Regions from separate parts of the Homo sapiens genome. Here region 1 is linked to region 2. Evidence: promoter capture Hi-C in human tissues and cell types (Jung and others, 2019). All regions are on one chromosome and are shown on one strand. The core of a region is centred on a gene start or on the middle of the fragment in contact, and the rest is flanking DNA. Distances in the headings are between cores, read along the strand shown.

Region 1 (2,700 bases), core at 86-2,585, 210 kb after region 2:
AAAAAGAAAAGCTACCATCTTATTTTCCACCTTGGACTCATGGATCAACTGCCCTACAAGACTGAAATCTGGGGGTGTGGAGTGGAGTCTTAGTCACCTCATGTGCCTAGCACATATCAGTGACTCAGTAAATCTGTTTCACTGAATCAATCAACGAATGGGTGAATAAATGCCAGGAATACGAAAATTTAACTAACTTGCCACACTCAAATGCTTCCTGGTTAGCACACTGGATGACAATGAACAGAAGGTACATGAATGCTGACAGTATACATCCAACAGGTGACAGAGGCTCATCACACTATGAGACATCCACTGGCTTCCGGTTTCCAGCACCAAAGCAGTGTGGCAAAGAATGCAAACCAATGTTGCTTTCTTTGGAAAACATAAAAAGAAGCGAGCCATTCATAGTCTTTTTTTCCATCTTTTGCCAACCAGAGGAGTGAAAGTAAATCTGTTCACTCCATGCTGGAGCAGTTCTTTGGGCATGGATGCCGTGCTCAAAGGCCACCACCTGCAAGAAGGCTGGGGCGTCCAGCCTCCACTGCCAGCAGAAGTCAGCCTCCTTACCTGCCGTCGCCTGGGCTCGGCCCCTGCTCCAGTATGCCCGCGGAAGAGGGGACAGTCCCACCCCCAGAGCTGCTTTCAGCCCTAGAGCTCTGGGGAGGGGGCTCTGGGCCAGCGGGCACCACGGTGCTGCCATCTGTGGGCGGAAGTGGCGGCTGGAAAGCGGGGGATATGTGCTTTCTATTTAGAGTGCCACCCCGCCGGTGGGCCTGGAAGTCCATAAGCTTCACACCAAAGCTACACAGAGAGAAGAAACAGTCAACACACCATGCGAGCAGACTACTGAGACAGAAGCCCATCGGTCCACATGTGTTAAAACCACACATGGGGATAGCCACCCAAGCTGCCCGGCATGCAGTGAAGCGGCAAGGACCAGACTAATGGCCACCCCTGAGCAACTCCACTCGGCTTCAAGCCTGAGCAAAGCCAATGAACCTGGTACTGTTCAATGTCTTTGATCAATTTGGGTGTGAGCAGCTAAAAGCAAATAGGCAGGCCTCATCTTGAATGACATCATGTTAGTGTGTTTATCCCCATACTTCCTCTGCTGTTTTTTTCCCCCTTTAGACATGTGGTCTCACTCCACCACCCAGGCTGGAGTGCTTGGCACTCCAGTGGAGCAATCATAGCTCACTACAGTGCCAAACTCCTGGGCTCAAACAATCCTCCAGCCTCAGCCTCTGGAGCAGCTTGGACTACTGGCACACATCACCATACTGGGATACTAAAAAAAAATTTTTTTTTGTAGAGATGCGGTCTCACTACATTGCCCAGGCTGATGTCAAACTCCTGGCCTCAAGTATTCCTCCTGCCTTGGTCTCTCAAAGTGCTGGGATTACAGGCATAAGTCACCACATCCGGCCTATTTCCATACTTCCTAGTTCCCATCTCAAATCTGTTTTTGGGGAATGACACAGAAGTCAAGTCCAGAAGGCCTACCAATGGCAGTGTAAGGTTATCACACCACACTGCCTCTTAACTGAGATGAGATGTAGAAACAATCCTATGTGCATATGCAGACTACATGTGAAAGGTACATAAGGCTGGAAAAGCTGGGCATGGTAGCTCACACCTGTAATCTTAGCACTTTGGGAGGACAAGGTGGGAGGATCGCTTTAGCTTGGAAATTCAAGACCAGCTTGGGAAACATCGTGAGGCCCTGTCTCTACAAAAAACTATTTTTTTAGAAAATTAGCTGCGTGAGGTGGTGCGTGCCTATAGTCCCAGCTAGTCAGGTGTGTGAGGTGGGAGGGCTGCCTGAGCCCAGGAGGTCAAGGCTGCTGTGAGCCATGATCATACCACTGCACTCTAGCCTGGGCACATAACCCTGTCTCAAAAAAACAAAAACCAAAAAGACTGGAAAAAGCCGTTGCTTTGGGGAAGGGAATGGTGGCTGGATGTGGCTGGAGAGGGTGGAAGGAAGGCTGACTTTTCACTTAAGGCGACTGATCTATGAACTTAACAACTTTTTCTTTCAGTTCAAAAAGTAAAAAGATACCTGGCTTCTTGAGCTCGTGCTTACTGGGTCAGCTGGCAGGGAGAATACACAAGGCAGGTAACTGAGAATTGTCTGTCACGTGCTAACTAGACTCATGCACTGTATTCTGTAACTTAAAATATATGAAAGCTAATTTTGTTACAGGTAGAGTCTGTCATCAGGAAATACTACTGAATGTATGAATGAGGGTTCAGAGAGGTAATACGTCTGCATAGAATAAATGTGGATTTTGGAAGGACAGAATAGGGACAGAATAATGCATTCTCCTTTGCTAGGGGTAAAAAATGCAATACAAAGAACAAGAAACAAACAGCACACCTCACTATAAGACTGAGCAATTAAAATAAGAGCTTGTCACTTCGTTTTAATGTAAAACTATTTCTAGTAGTATTATTTAATATACCAAGAAAAGCATATTACTTCCAACAGGCCTCTTAACTGTTAGCATTCCTAGTGAGTACAGTGGCATTTCATCACACACATGGGACAGGTTGGCATCCAAAGGCACAAATTACAAACAGTCTTAATCACCCTTGAAAATCCCATGAATTGCCCATAGAAAAGAGTATATAGAGACACACTGCTTCTCACTAAGTTCAACACTGCCATTTTTTTTTCTTCTAGAATTGGCAAAT
Region 2 (2,700 bases), core at 54-2,553:
AAGGCAGGAGAATTGCTTGAACTCGGGAGGCGGAGGTTGCGGTGAACGGAGATCGCGCCACTGCACTCCAGCCTGGGAGACAGAGCGAGACTCCGCCTAAAAAAAATGATAATATAATAAAAAAATAAAAAAAAAAGCCAGTTGAAGAACTTAGGTTAGAAAAAGGAGAATGGGATGATCCACAGAGTGGGGTTTCTGAGAAAGTAAAGGTTATAGATTTTAAGCACAGAGGAGGAATTATCTTTAAATTAGAAGAAAAAGCTTGATGAGAGGTTGGAAAGAACACACGCAAGTGAAAATATGTATCTTACTGTATCTACATGTATGTGTATTGTTGTATCTACCTGCAGATATGTATGTCTTATTGTATCTACATGTAGGTATGTATGTATACTTTTAATGTACACATATGCATCTGTGTCTACATATATACATATCTTAGTCTATCTACATGTATGTATCTTACTGTGTCTACACTAAGATGTTTCTTACTGTGTGAGCTACGTTGGAACCTGCTTTTTCATTTATTCTATTGCAACCATTTCCTCCATGCCGGGATTATTCCTCCACATCATTTTTACAGTGTCCTAATACATGCCAGTAGCTGTTTTTGAAGCCATCTAGTAGCGCTGGACATTTTGGCTGTTTGCAATTTTTCACCATCATCAATACCACAGCTTAGTATCTCGAAGGTGAAATATTTGCAGATACCCAGAATTATTTCCTGAGCAGAAAATCCGTGCAGGCGGAACTGCTGAGTCAAAGGTCGGTGGATAAAAATCGCTTTTAAGCCTCACAACCCGCCTCAGGTATGCATTCTTTACCTGAGGAGGAACAGAGAAGCAGAGAGGTTAAATAACTGGCCCAAGGTCAAAAATAATTAGAAGTGGCTGAATTCAAAAGCCGCGCGGGCTCATCAGGCTGCAGTTGGGGTAAAATTTGCGTTTTAGGCAATTTTTTTTTTTTTTTTTTTTGGCGTGTGTCAGTGGGGGAGGGGCCGGGCGGCGGGTAGGAAACTTGTGTCGCAGCAAAGAAGGAGGAGGAGGGGAGGGACTCCCCTCCTCGGTCAGACCGGAGCCGGCCGCACCGAAAAAGGTTGGACTCGGGACTCCGCAGGCCCCCCCAGCCACTCCGCGGGGCGCCTCGGAGGCTGTGACCTCCAGGGAGGTCCGGCTGGGTGCAGCGTGACACGCCGGGGCGGTTGCCAAGGACCTGCCCAATCTGCGGGTCCAGTTGCTAGGGCCTCCATCTTGGGGGCCAGTGGCCGTGGCGCCCCCGGAAGGGGTTGCCGAGTGGGGCATTCACTTCCGGTCTGGGGCCTGCGGCGGCGGCGGTGTCGGCGGCGGCGGCGGCGGCGGCGGCGGCGGCGGCAGCGGGTCGGTGTAGAAAATGGCGCTGGTGCAGCGGCTCGGGCCTCTCCCCGCGGCGCTGCGGAGGGCTTGAGGCTCGCGAGCCTCCTTCGCCGCGCCCCACTTGCTCGTGCACTTTACACACATGAGGTGAGCGGAACAAGGGCCTCCCTCCGGGCGGGAGGAGCCGCGGGCGCTGCCGCAGGGCCCGCAACCCGCGGCGGCGGCAGCAGAGGCGGCGGCGCCGGGCGTCCCCGAGACTTCGGGCCTCGGCGGGAGGGCGCAGGCTGCGTTGCTGCGGAGGCCGAGCGGGCGGCCCGGGGGAGCCTCGCTGCGCCGCGCCGCGGGGGCCAGGCCGGGGTTGCGCCTCGCCCGCGCCGCGGGACCGCAGTCCGGGCTGCAGCCCCGCAGCTTTGTGAGTCCCCCTCCCCCCGTCCTCTCCCCTCCCCCATCCGGCCCCGGCGCGAGCCTCTGCCGCAGCAGCTCCGTTTTCACGCGCATCTCGTTTTTGTGTGTGTGTTTTTGTTTTGTTTTTGTTTTTGTTTTTTTGTTTCAGAGAATTGGAAGCTAAAGCTACCAAAGACGTAGAAAGAAATCTTAGCAGGTAAGATGGGCGAGCTTTCCGTCTCCCGCCCCACGATAATCGTATATTTCTACTCCGATTCGCCTTTTCTGGGTTGAGAAGTTCCCCCGTGACATTTTCTTCCGCACCCGGAGAGCAGACATTCGGGAGAAGCGGCCTGGGGGAATACTGGAGGGATTGCGGGGAGATGCGTAATTACGCGTGTGTTTCTTTCTTTAAAAAAAAAAAAAAAAAGCGCAAAGCAATTCTTGTAAACTTAGTTAAAGCATTCTCACCCTTTTAGAATTTAATTAGGGGACTTGTGCATTAATTACTATTGTAAATGGTTGCAGGCATTGTGTGACTCATGATTGAGGCGGCCCTTATGGCGGGCTGTCAAACTGTTTTGGCTTCCCCGTTATTACTTTGTAGCTCAAATTGTTGCTTTTATAAAAAGATACTATGTGTTCGCATTCCCCCCCGCCCCCCCCCCCCCCCCATACATTGTAGTCAGGCGGATTCTGTTGCATTGGACACAGTTTTGTCCTTGAACTTTACCAAGCATAAGCTGCGTTTTGTTTTCCTTCGAAACTCCATTTCTGTCCATGTTCGGTGTGTGCTCTTTTTATCAGCTGGTAAAATAATTAAAAATCTTTTCTCCAGAAGAGGTTATCGTTCCTGTTGGGCCCTGCTGCTTTTGCATCACCGTGAAGGGAGAATTTTTTTTTTTTTTTAAACGATGTCTTTATGGAATGGAAATATTTAGCTTCATTGAGCTGTAATTGCTTA

What was found. The method cuts DNA at HindIII sites, captures the fragments that hold promoters and counts their contacts. A contact is called where the count stands out against the background at its distance.
Region 1: a fragment that was not itself captured here is called in contact with the fragment with the promoter of TNRC6A in region 2 in 1 of the 25 tissues and cell types used here (IMR-90 fibroblasts).

The regions. Positions count from the first base shown.
Region 1 is chr16:24,938,794-24,941,493 of GRCh38, forward strand. It overlaps ARHGAP17 (Rho GTPase activating protein 17), which reads right to left. Exons shown (of 20, transcript NM_001006634.3): 17 at 571-804. Among named protein-coding and RNA genes, the nearest start is that of ARHGAP17, 75 kb to the right of the region's middle. The HindIII fragment of the contact is 5,425 bases long and covers 1-2,700 here.
Region 2 is chr16:24,728,348-24,731,047 of GRCh38, forward strand. TNRC6A (trinucleotide repeat containing adaptor 6A) reads left to right here and starts at 1,304. Exons shown (of 25, transcript NM_014494.4): 1 at 1,304-1,499; 2 at 1,906-1,953. The coding sequence starts at 1,495. RefSeq lists a silencer at 1,333-1,642. The HindIII fragment of the contact is 13,221 bases long and covers 1-2,700 here.